Regions from separate parts of the Homo sapiens genome. Here regions 1, 3 and 4 are each linked to region 2. The links are contacts of gene promoters, found by promoter capture Hi-C in human tissues and cell types (Jung and others, 2019). All regions are on one chromosome and are shown on one strand. The core of a region is centred on a gene start or on the middle of the fragment in contact, and the rest is flanking DNA. Distances in the headings are between cores, read along the strand shown. Region 1 has its middle 23 kb from the start of SPARCL1. Region 2 holds the start of PKD2 (polycystin 2, transient receptor potential cation channel). Region 3 overlaps PPM1K (protein phosphatase, Mg2+/Mn2+ dependent 1K). Region 4 overlaps DMP1-AS1 (DMP1 and DSPP antisense RNA 1).

Region 1 (2,975 bases), core at 243-2,742, 460 kb after region 2:
GCTGAAGCAAAGTGAGGTGAAGTATCTTGCCCTAAATTTCATAACAAGTACAGAATAATACCAGAATTTTAAGATAGGCAGCCTGGCCTGGCATGGTGGCTCGTGCCTGTAATCCCAGCACTTTAGGAGGCTGAGGCAGGTAGATCACTTGAGGTCAGGAGTTTGAGACCAGCCTGGCCAATGTGGTGAAACCCCGTCTCTACTAAAAAATACACAAAGTAGCCTGGCGTGGTGGCACAAATGTAGTCCCAGTTACTCAGGGGGCTGAGGCAGGACAATCGTTTGATCCCAGGAGGCAGAGGTTGCAGTGAGCCAAGTTCATGCCACTGCACTCCAGCCTGAGCAATGGGAGTGAGATTCCACCTCAAAAAAAAAAAAAAAAAGTAGGCAGCCTAACTGCCTATATTATAGAGCAGGCCTAATAGATGCTCTTTATTAAGGCACTGTGCTAGACACTTCACATGTATATCCTCACAATAATCTCACGGTGCTATTTACACATGGTAAAACGGGATTTAAAAGATCAGATAACTTTCCTTAAGTCACACAGCTAGTGAGTAGTGGAAACAAGATTTAAACCCAGACAGTCTGATTCCTATCCCCCAAACAAATACAGAGCTCAGGCTCCGAGCTGCACACATAAAAGATGCTTACTAGCAGCATCTGCTGTTTGTTGGGGAAAGCATAAACTAACATGACTTTTTCATCTTCTAGTAGCTTTTCCATTCTTTCTTCTAATTCAGCAGGAGCACACTGGAATATCGAGTTAAAACAGTTCCACACAGGTGAGCAGGTAGATTGTTTGGTCTGGTAAGCCAGTCATCTTTGTCTTGTGTTTGGTAAAAATGAAGTTGTTTTGTCTCATTATGGCCCTGAGAGGTATTTAAAGTTCTATCCAGAGATATCTTATGTTTGTCATCTTTGTCTGACTATAAAAATAAAACCAATGGTGTGCTGCAGGTACAAGCACAAAAGTTGAGTGCATGAAGGTTGGAAGGATAAAAGATCAAGGGAGTGATGGGATGTTTCTTAGCTATATTCATTGCGATGCCTTCCCTTCTTCCTCTTGTCTCTGTCACATACACACTCCCCTAAAATTCACTAGAAACAGCCGCCCCTGAGCACCTATATCCAGGCATTTCCCTATACCTCAGATATCTGTCAGCAAGGTAAACCCTAGAAAAAATTGTAAGGGCAATATAAATGTTCCTCGATTTATGATGGAGTTACTTCCTGATAAACCCATTGTAGGCTGAAAATATCCTAAATCAAAAATGCATTTAGAAAACTGAACCTACCTTAAACATACACAGAACACTTATGTTAGCCCACAGTTGAGCGAAATCATCTAACACAAAGCTTATTTTGTAATAAAGTGTTGAATTTCTCATGTAATTTATTGAATTCTGTACTGAAAGTCAAAAAAAGAACAGTAAGTGTACTCAAAGCATGGTTTCTGCTGAATGCATATAGCTTTTGCATTATCATAAAGTTGAAAAATTGTGAGTTGAACCATCGTAGTCAAGGATCATCTGTATGTGTTTCCTCCATCTCCATTTTACCTTCCTTCTGTCCTACTTTTGTGGGTGTCTTCAAGCTATTCTTTTTTTTTTTTTTTTTTTTCTGAGACAGAGTCTTGCTCTGTCCCCCAGGCTGGAGTCCAATGGCACAGTCTTGGCTCACTGCAACCTCCACCTCCCAGGTTCATGCAATTCTCCTGCCTCAGCCTCCCAAGTAGCTGGGATTACAGGCGCCCGCCACCACGCCCAGCTAATTTTTTGTATTTTTAGTAGAGATGGAGTTTTGCCATGTTAGCCAGGCTGGTCTCAAACTCCTGACCTCAGGTGATCCACCCGCCTCGGCCTCTCAAAGTGCTGGGATTACAGGCATGAGCCTCCACACCTGGCCTTCAAGCTATTCTTTTGACAGCTACAAATTCCTCATAAAAGCCTCTCTGTCCCTGCTTATGCTTAACCAACCCACTTGCTTATTCAACAATGATGTGTGGCTTCACACAGAGCCAGGCACTGTTTTAGACTCTTGAGACACAATAGTGAATAAAACAGACAAAAATCTCTGCCCCTGAGAAATTTACATTCTAGCAAGGGCAGGTTGGAAATAAACACAATGCATTATAAATGAGTAAATAGTTTGTTAAAAGATCATTATTCTATGTTTTAAAAAAGGAGAAAAAATTTGGGCAGGGAAGAAGGATTAAGACCTAAGGGAATAAGGAAAAAGTATGGTTTTCAGAATTAAATAATGTGGGCGGAGAGGTCTCATTGAGGAGAAACTGGAATAAAGAGGAGGTTGGTGAGAGAGTAAGCCAAGTAGGTAAACTAGGGAAGAGCATTCCAAGCAGGAGGAGCAAACACAAAGGCTCCCCATCAAGAGTGTGTCTGAGGGGTGTGAAGAGCTGCAGGGAGGCCAGCGTTCTGCAGCAGAGTGAGTAAGTGAGTGGGGGGACAATAGCAAGAGATGAGGTCAGCACAGTTACTGCACCGTAGCCTCAAGAACTTGGAGACCAATGTGAGGACTTGGGGTGTTACTCTGAGTGAAACTGGGTGTAAATAGAAAGTAAATTTCATTTTCTCCCAATTTAATTAATATAGACAGAATATTTCTCCTCTTTTAAGAAAACATATAAAAATCTAAGAAATAACACAATGGGAAGGACCATGACCTAACCAAGTTAATCTCCTGCATCTAAAGTGTTTCCAGCTTGCTAAGGGGAACAAATTCTTCTCTAAGATCTCCTTTAAACCCAGTGCTGTGGCCGGGTGCAGTGGCTCCCGTCTGTAATCCCAGCACTTTGGGATGCCAATGTGGGCAAATCACCTGAGGTCAGGAGTTCAAGACCAGCCTGGCCAACATGCCAAAACCCCATCTCTACTAAGAATACAAAATTAGCCAGTCATGGTGGCATGTGCCTGTAATCCCAGCTACTTGGGTGGCTGAGGGAAGAGAATCGCTTG
Region 2 (3,175 bases), core at 179-2,678:
TGGAATTTCAAAGAACATTAATTTAGTTATTTAAAAACATACTTCAAATTTTTTTAAAACAATGTAATCTTTCCTTTGCAACTGTTTTTAGAAAAATGTCTAGAATTAGAAACGGCCAAATAACTTCACGATATTATTTTATTCTATTTGTGGTGTTCTTAACAGCTCCCACTCCTCAAAACAACCACACACATCACCAAAAAAATGCACCAATGACAATCTGCCACACTCCTCCCACAACTTGACATTATATGCACTGTACTGCTACCCTTTTCAGCCCGGGACAATGGAGTGTCCAGGCAAGAAGGAAACCACGGGTGACTATAACATTTTCCTTTAGATTTTGTGACATTGGCAAATATGCAGTTGCAACTACCATCAGTTACACAAGTAATGTTCATTTTTTCCTCTACAAGAAAAAAAAAAACAAAACCCAGATGTACTCTTTCACTCTAATTAGGCTTTCACTAATTTTCAGTAAAAAAGACTATGGTGACATATCCTGAAGAAGGAGGTATCCAATAAATATGCACCAACAAAAGAGCAGTGGAATTCCGCGCTGGGTACCGGAAATAGGGCAGCACTAGCGGAGGTGGGGAATGCGCTTCCAAGGGAGGCGGAACGCAGAGGGGATGCGAGATGGAGCCCGGGGAGCTGCCGCAGCGGGCGATGGCCCCGGCCGGCGCCGGCCGTTCTGGTTCGTGCATCTGCCGCTGCGGGTCGCGCGCTCTTACCTCGCAGCCCGCGAACCAGCCTCTCCGCCCAGGCCACTCGGGGCGGCTGCCCTTCCAGGGGGAGGTGGCGATGCAGCGGGTCCCCGCCGCCGACTGGGCTGGGGCACGGCGGGCCCTGGTCCTCTCGCCGGCGCCGCCTCCCGCTCGGGTGGCCCGCGCCGTGGTAGCCCCCAAGCCCCCGGCTCCGCGCGCCCACGGAGCTCACGGCCGAGGAGGCGGCCGACCTCCGGCTGCCCGGGCGCCACTCTACGTCCATCTCCACCACCATTCCGCCTTCTTCCCCTTCCACCTCCTCCTCCTCCTCCTCGGCCTCGAAGCCGGGGTTATCGCGGCTCCACGCCTGCCGGGAGCACGACGAGAGCGGAGGAGAAGGGGAGGCCGCGGCTCCGGCCGGGGGGTCCCGCGCGGCCGCCTGCCGGATGCGCTGCATCTCGATCTCCAGGCCCCGCTGCTCGCAGAGGCCGCCCGGGGCGGCGAGGCTGGCGCCCACGGCCGCGCAGCCAGCCATCAGCCGGCCCGGGTCCGGCGCGCGGGGCGCGGGCGGCCGCTTGGCGTCCCCGGGCTGCTGAGGCTGCACGCGACTGGAGTTCACCATCGCGGTCACTGGCGTCCGGCGCGCGGGTGCGCGGCGCCGCGCTCGGCGCTGTGCGCCTCAGGAGCCATGTTCCTTTCTTCCCGGCGCCCGCCGCCGCCTGCTCCCCGCCCCCGACCTCCCCGCGGTCCCGCGTCCTCTCGCCCGCCCCTTTGGCCCGCCTCCCTCTGGCCTCGCCCCGCCTCGCCCATCCGCCGCGGCGCGCTGAGCGGGGAGGTGCGAGGGAGCCGCCCCCGCGGTCTGCGCGCTCGCCCGGCGGCTCCCGAGTCCGCGTTCCAAGTGGAACCGGAGCCCGGGCGCGGGCGCCCACGTTCCATTCCCGGGAAGGCCTGGGAAGGGAGGGAATCGCTCACCCGCCAGCCCGCCTGCAGGGAAAGGGCTCCTGGAGCTGTCGATGCCTGCCCGACGCTGAGATAACTCTTGGGTCCCAGTTATCCACCAGCCACTTCTGCCTCGATTCACCAAAGGGCAGGGAAAGAACCTTTTGGTGAGATGGTGTGAATTAGCGACATCCAGCCTGAGCTGAAGTCTCCAGCGGGTCAAAGAAATCTTTCCATTTGCAAACTACCAAGGCTGACTTGCTGTGCATTTGGCGGGCCTCCTGCCCCTGATTCTGCTGGTTTGGAGATGCTTTCTCGCTCTTTGGTTGGCTTCTGTCTCCACACATTGTGGGGATCCCAGGGATTCGTCATAGGACTCTCGGATCGCTGGTGCCTCCACTGTGATCTCCGGTCTCCCTGCGGCCAGCACTGACTTCTAGCAACAGAATCCTGCATGAGGGCCTAGGCACAGAACTTTATTTCCACTCTTCTGAACACATCTAATGTGATGCTCTGCAATTGTCTGAAATTTATCCTACCCTAAGTCATTATCTTGTCCCCTTCTCTGGAACCTGCTTCACTTCCCGTATCCCAAGGTGAGGTTTGGGGCTTCGCTGTCCTCCTCACTTCCCAGGCCACTCTTCTTCATGGAAGCCTCGCGGTTTACCCTCCACCGCCTACACCTTATCTTCTTGTTACTTTTGCCCCACAGATATCACCCTGATATGATCTCTGTTTCTCACTCCTGCTGGCTTGATCTTATGTCTTGCATTATTCCGCATTAGAACAATTGATCCCTGTCAACTCCCATCTCTATTCTCCACGTCGGTGTCCTCACTATTTCCAGGTTATATTGCAGAACCAAAGCTGCTTATTTGTCACGTTGATGCTTAGACACCTCTGTGGGCTTCTGGCAGCTGAAAGGATAAAATTTAATTTCTGTGGTTTGGTTTAGTAAATTCTCATAATCTGCTCCTGTATTTGTTTGTTAGGGCTGCCATAACAAAGTACCAGAGACTGGGTGGCTTAACAGAAATTTATTTGCTCACCTTGTCTCTACAAAAAATACAAAAATTAGCCAGGCTTTGCGGTGTGTGCCTTTGGTCCCAGCTATTAGGGACGCTGAGGTGGGAGGATCGCTTGAGCCCGGGAGGCAGAGGATGTAGTGAGCCAAGATCGGGCCACTGCACTCCAAGTGACAGAGTGAGACTCTGTCTCATAAAGAAAGAAAGAGAGAGAGAGAAGAAAGAAAAAAAGAAGGAAGGAAGGAAAAAGAAAAGAAAAATTGTATTTTCTCACGAGGTGTTGGCAGAGTTGGTTTCTTCTGAGGCCTCTCTCCTTGGCTTGCAGATGGCCCCGCTTTTGTGTCCTCACGCCGTCTTCCCTCTTCCCTCTGTATGCGTCTGTGTCCTAATTGTCTATTCTTATACATCATATTGGATTAGGGCCTACCCTCATGACCTTGTTTTCACTTCATTACTTCTGTAAAGACCCTGTCTCCAAGTATGGTCATGTTCTGAGGTAATGGG
Region 3 (3,014 bases), core at 146-2,645, 270 kb before region 2:
AAATGAATCATGCAATAATCTTGATCTGTATTTGGTTCATCCTTTTCTTAAAAAAAAGAAAGAAACCAAGTGCACCACAGAAATGTCATTTGCACAGTCTTCAGTTGGAATACATAAGGATAGAGATTGTTTGCATTTCACAGCGAAGGAACTGAAGATTAGAGTGGTAAAGGTCAGTTCAGAGTTAGGGCTGGGATTTTCCTGACCACCAGCATTATCTCTCTTCTCTCATGAGGAGAGGAGAAGGTAACTCTGCGATGGCTCTATTTACCATCTTGAGATTTTTTCCTGAGCTTTTTTTGAGAACCTTACTATCACACTCCTCAGGAAAGCATTACAGTCCACTCTCTTCAGGGATATGTTTTCCAGTTTGTAGATCATTTAGGCCCATTTTCTTTTCTTTCATTCCTTTGGAATTTTTCTTTTTCCTTTCAACTGGACCCTTACCTTTAAGAAGACAGAAGCTGAAAGAGGTAAACTTTATGCATAAGACTTAGCTCTTGTTCCAAATAGTTAAAACACATGAAGGAAAAGAGGAAATGAAATATTTTCTTATGGTTTTATTTTTATTACTTCCTGAATTTTGGTATGCTCTTATTTCATAGTAACTGAGTTGGCTGTGCATCTGGCTATGTCTCACACCACAATGTTTGTTGACTGTAGTGTCGGTGGTGTGCCCCAGCTGTTCTGTAAATAGCTGCAGCTTACTGGGCAAGGTTTTTGGATGAGAATGTCCAAATTTATCCCAGGCATGTGACCACCAACCAAAAACATTGGCCTTCTCAATGCCATCAGCCTCTTTTAAAAGTATCTAGTCAATGTAGATGCTTAAACCAATCGGTGATTGACTTGATGTAAAATATGACAGGACTCCTTTTATTATTGAATGAAGTATAACTCAACAGAATTTTGAACTTAAAGAATTTAATTAACTTGCCTATCTTAAAAGAAACTTTCTAAAGATACCTTTGTCACAAAAACATTAAACAGTTGTATAAAGAAATTAATCACAAAAATGTAATTCATATGCTAACTTCAGCAGCACATACACTAAAATTGGAATGATACAGAGATCAGCATGGTCCTTGTGCAAGGATGGCACACAAATGCATGAAGAGTTCCATATTTTTTATTCTTACTAAAATCAATTCATTTGTAATAAAGAAATTAAAATGCATTATTTAATTTAATTCCTCTATCATATGCTTTGAAGTAATGATCCCAGAACATTCTTAAGATATTTTAAAATGTATTTTTCATATAATGGTAATTTGTTTGAAAGTATAATGGAGCAAGACAAGATGATGCTCTTAGTGTGTACTAAAAGAAAAGGTCTATTATAATATTGTTATTAAATCTTATTTTGTTATTAAATTTGTTATTTGTTATTAAAATCTTATTTTGTATATATTCTTATCGGTCTGTGTTTTTTAAAAATTAGTGTTTTGAGAACATTTAAAAATTTTATTCTTGATAAGTTGCCAGAGCCTTCAAAGATGGCAAAAATTGTCTTGATATTTAGGGCCTATTTTATCAAATACATTAAAGCCACTAAAGATAGAATGCCATATGTTGTGTAACTGTTCAGTTTATGGATTTTTTAAAATGTCATTTTAAATTTCAAAGTTATTATTTAAGTTTAAAACTTTAGTTTTTAGCAAGAACTGAAGCAGTATCAGTATTATAAGAGTGGATAATATTCTTTTCGGCCTATGTATATAGATAGGACCAGTGCCAGTGAAACAAAATTTTGTAGTAAGTGCAGTTTACCCTCTCCAGTTTCTTTCATCTTTTCTCTTTTAGTATTAACCCCTTTCCCCTCTTCTTGAACCCTTCCTGTGAGGTGAAGGACTGTGGCTTATTCATTTTTGAATCTCCAGTGTGCAGCACCCTGCATAGAACCTGGCAGGTACTCAATAATTATTTGGATTGAACTGAGATCTCCACGCTGACTCTTTCTCACTGAAGTTACTGTAATTTTTTCTTTGATTATCATATAGCTGATTTAATCAAATTATTATAAAATGTTTGCATTTTAATGAGCTGTCACTCCTGGGTGGATTTGAATTTTAGTTAGCAGACACCTGAAAAAGGCTTAAACCATAGAAGTGAATTACTAATGGTGAGATTTTAGGTATAAAAGAGAGGCGTGCCGCTCAGTCCTACTGAAGCAGCATTGCTCGTCTGGCGTAATACTTGAGTTTCATTGTCTCATACCAAGGAAATCAAGGACGAGGACACACAAGGAGTGAGGTTAGGAGTGGAGACTTAATAGGTGAAAGAAAGAGAAAAGCTCTCTCCTGCAAAAAGAGGGGTCCCAAACAGCTTTCTAGTCCATGGTGAAGTGCAGGAGGCTTTATGGATGAACTTGAGGAGGCAGTGTCTGATTTACATAGGGCATGAAAGATTGGTTGGACCAGATGTGCCATTTGCATAGCACACGAAAAACTGATTAGGCCTAGGTGTGCAATTTGCAGAGCATTCAAGAATCTGGCCACCCCCACCCTAATCTTTTATTATGCAGATGGGTTCTCTACCTGGCCAGCGCCATGTTGCCCATTTCTTTACACATGGTGACAAAGAAAAGGGAAGATGGAACATATTGAACATGCTTGGCCCCAGGTAGCCCTTTTCTTTTTCTTTTTTTTTTTTTTTGAGACAGTTTTGCTCTAGTCTCCCAGGCTAGAGTGCAATGGTGCAATTTCAGCTCACTGCAACCTCCACCTCCCAGGTTCAAGTGATTCCCCTGCCTCAGCCTCCCAAGTACCTGGGATTATAGGCGCCTGCCACCATGCCTACCTAATTTTTGTATTTTTAGTAGAGGCGGGGTTTTGCCATGTTGGTCAGGCTGGTCTCTAACTCCCGACCTTGGGTGATCTGTCCGCCTTGGCCTCCCAAAGTGCTGGGATTACAGGCGTGAGCCATTGTGCCCAGCCCAGGTAGTACTTTTCTATTGGCACAGCTGCTGGCATTCACCTGTGCAAGCTTCCAGCTTGCTTATTTATGTTTGCAGC
Region 4 (3,322 bases), core at 657-3,156, 380 kb after region 2:
GTAAATGATCACTAATACTTGTTTCATAGTCTCCTTCTCACATATTTAGGGTATTGGGAAACTATTATATTGGCCACTTGTGTCATGTTCTCAGCCTTTGGAACCTCATTTAGCATTCTGCTTATTTTCTATTTTCACCACTGGACTCTAAACCTCCTTGGAGGTAGTCTAGTCCAACAGGCAATTGTCAAAAGAATACTGTGTTAGGCATTGTGGTGGGGGTCAGGGCATGGAGATATAAGAAGAATGAGTCATAGGCTAGGCTCTGAAGTTGTTGTCATTCTAGAGCAGCTTGTCCAGAAGAGCTTTCTGAGATGACGAGGTGTTCTGTATCTGCATGTTTCAATGTAGTAGCCAGTAGCCATTGGCAAAACTCACACAATAGTATTTCAGAACACATATTTAGGTGCATATTTATATATTAAGTAAAAGATATGCAAGGAAGTGATTGCCACAGTCAGGCTAAGTTGTCTCTGGGGGAGGGTTATGGAGTTGCTTTGGAGAGGCAGCAGTATTATTTTTCATAATGTCCATGGTGGTTACACAAGCATTTGTTTTAAATGTTTGTTAAGGTTGGATTATATTTAATAGTGAAAAGTCTTTAAGACAAATATTGTTTTCAAAAAATTAATACTGAATATGATAGTTAAGATCAGCTCTTCCATAGGCTCATAATGTAATTTCACCATTTTTATGGGCATCACTTTGGTTGGTTTTTCTAATCTTAAGTAAGCAAGTGTTTGTAATGTTTTTATGTCAGAATGCATTTGATTTTTAAAAATGTTTGTCTCTTTTCCATGAAGGTAGTTTAATTAATTCTTTGTCTTAGGATTTGGAAGTGGATAAAACTGGTTTTTTAAAAATGTTTTTATTTGTAAGAACAGTTGAAAGTTGCAGCTATTTGGAGACTATTTTTGAATTTACAACACCACAGCTTGGTTATTTGAAAAAGGTTGATTTCACTCTGCCACAAAAATTGATTCTTTTCCAATCTGGAGACCTCAAGATGTTCTGATTTTGGAGAAAATTGCTAGTAGAATAAAAATGGCTAACACTGAGAACACTATGTCCCACATTTTTCTTTGCCAACTTTAAATAATGCTTAGAATAGATTACACATCAGTTCTCCAACATTTTCTCCTTGAGACTTCCTTCCTACCACCCTTCATGGTCAATAAAAGGATTCCAGAGGAGTCAATTCTTAATTAGCAAAAGGAAAAAGATTGGTCTAGAAAAGAGTAGCTTACTCTGAAGATAAGTCATCTGTCGGTGGCAAACCAGTCCAACCTCGACAAAGATGTGTGAAAACCTTCCATTGACATAATTTAATAAGACAGTAAAGCAATGCCATCAAAGCATCTCAACATGAAATATCAGCCAAATAGTTGTTGGTTCTGGATACAGACAAACTTGGTAGGGCATATTTTCTTCCAAATGCTTCCTTACTTTTACTCATGGCATTTTTTTTTAAGAGACAGCCTCACTCTGTTACCCAGGCTGGAATGCCGTGGCATGATTATAGCTCACTGCAGCCTCCAACTCCTGGGCTCAAGCAACCCTCCAAGCTCAGCCTTTTGAGTAGCTGGGGACTCAACATGTTGCCCAGGCTGGTCTCGAACTCCTGCCCTCAAGCACTCCTCCCCGTTTGGCCTCCCAAAGTGCTGAAATTACAGGCATGAGTCACTGCACCTAGCCCTTATTCATGGCCTTTTTTTTTTTTTTAACCAATTAGGATTTTTCACTTTGCTGTTAAAGTATGTAATTTTGGCAAACCAGATTATACATACATTTCTATAAATTTATATATGTATAAAAATATTCATCTAATGCACCATCATGTCAAAAGATAATAAGAAAGGTGAAGCTGAAATAGATTTGTGACTTCTCCAGTAGTCAATTACATCAATGGTGTTTTGCCACTCTAGGTTAACCAAATTTGATGAGCAGAAGCATAATAATCACTGATACCTTTGACAATGGTAATTATTACTATTATTATTATTATTGCATTTTTAGTAGAGAGGGGGTTTCATCACAGTGGTCAGGCTGGTCTTGAACTCCTGACCTCAGGTGATCCACTTGCCTCGGCCTCCCAAAGTCCTGGAATTGCAGGCGTGAGCCACCATGCCCAGCCCAACGACAGTAATTATTATGAAGACAGGTAAACATTTCACTTAGATATGCATTAAGCTTCATATTGTATTATCACGTTTGCAGTCCTTGGTTTGATTGGTATGTTTAAGAATCCACATGAACCAAGTTAGAGTTGTCCTCTTTAAACACAGGCATGAAAACTGGTAACCTTCTCAAAGCATTCTTACATTCCCATTAATTGTAAGACCAAAAAAAGTTTCTCCTTTCTTAGTAATAGAATATCTACATATCTACTAGGTTACTTTTCTGAGTACATAAAATTACATACATAAATATCAACTGAAATCTATGTGCTCATTTTAGTATATTTTCTAATCTTATTTTCAACAGTCTAATATATTGCTATTTCTTCACTAATGCTTTTTTTGTTTGTTTGTTTGAGACAGGGTCTCACTCTGTCACCCAGGCTGGAGTGCAGTGCCGCAATCTCAGCTCACTGCAACTTCACCTCCTGGGTTCAAGCAATCTTCCCACCTCAGCCTCCTGAGTAGCTGGGACTACAGGTACATGCCACCACGCCTGGCTAATTTTTGTATTTTTTTGTAGAGGGGAGGTTTCACCATGTTGACCAGGCTGGTCTGGAACTCCTGGACTAAGTGATCTGCCTGCCTCGGCCTCCCAAACTGCTGGGATTACAGGCATGAACCACTGCACCTGGCCTGCTAATGCTTTTAACTTTTTTGTTGTTTGTTTGTTTGTTTGTTTGTTTGTTTTTTGAGATGGAGTCTCGCTCTGTCGCCAGGCTGGAGTGCAGTGGCGCAATCTTGGCTCACTGCAACCTCCGCCTCCCAGATTCAAGTGATTCTCCTGCCTAAGCCTCCCAGGTAGCTGGGACTACAGGCACATGCCACCACAACTGGCTAATTTTTGTATTTTTAGTAGAAACAGGGTTTCACCATGATGGCCAGGATGGTCTCGATCTGTTTTAACTTTTTAAAATTTTGCAATTTCTTCTTCCACTCCTTAACCTCTTTGTCTCTTCTTTCTCTAGGTACTTGTTAATTATCATCAGGGTCAGACAGAATCCTTGTAGGCATTTTGAAAAAAGATAACATTTCCTTCCTTGAATAATTTAAAGGAATGAATAGGTTTGTCCAAGACCATGTTTATTATTACTTTAGGTCAAACTATTTGAAATTGCTGGGTTTTTTTAATTAAATTTTTAAAA

What was found. The method cuts DNA at HindIII sites, captures the fragments that hold promoters and counts their contacts. A contact is called where the count stands out against the background at its distance.
Region 1: a fragment that was not itself captured here is called in contact with the fragment with the promoter of PKD2 in region 2 in 1 of the 25 tissues and cell types used here (hippocampus).
Region 3: a fragment that was not itself captured here is called in contact with the fragment with the promoter of PKD2 in region 2 in 1 of the 25 tissues and cell types used here (liver).
Region 4: a contact is called between a fragment that was not itself captured here and the fragment with the promoter of PKD2 in region 2, in 2 of the 25 tissues and cell types used here (H1 embryonic stem cells and bladder).

The regions. Positions count from the first base shown.
Region 1 is chr4:87,550,999-87,553,973 of GRCh38, reverse strand. No RefSeq gene overlaps it. Among named protein-coding and RNA genes, the nearest start is that of SPARCL1, 23 kb to the right of the region's middle. The HindIII fragment of the contact is 4,755 bases long and covers 1-2,975 here.
Region 2 is chr4:88,005,888-88,009,062 of GRCh38, reverse strand. PKD2 (polycystin 2, transient receptor potential cation channel) reads right to left here and starts at 1,428. Exons shown (of 15, transcript NM_000297.4): 1 at 735-1,428. The coding sequence starts at 1,329. RefSeq lists silencers at 546-685, 736-1,665. The HindIII fragment of the contact is 15,667 bases long and covers 1-3,175 here.
Region 3 is chr4:88,273,321-88,276,334 of GRCh38, reverse strand. All of the region lies in intron 3 of PPM1K (protein phosphatase, Mg2+/Mn2+ dependent 1K), which reads left to right. It also overlaps the pseudogene RNU6-112P. Among named protein-coding and RNA genes, the nearest start is that of PPM1K, 9.7 kb to the left of the region's middle. The HindIII fragment of the contact is 6,866 bases long and covers 1-3,014 here.
Region 4 is chr4:87,629,603-87,632,924 of GRCh38, reverse strand. The region is part of intron 3 of DMP1-AS1 (DMP1 and DSPP antisense RNA 1); the gene reads left to right. Among named protein-coding and RNA genes, the nearest start is that of DMP1, 19 kb to the left of the region's middle. The HindIII fragment of the contact is 5,656 bases long and covers 1-3,322 here.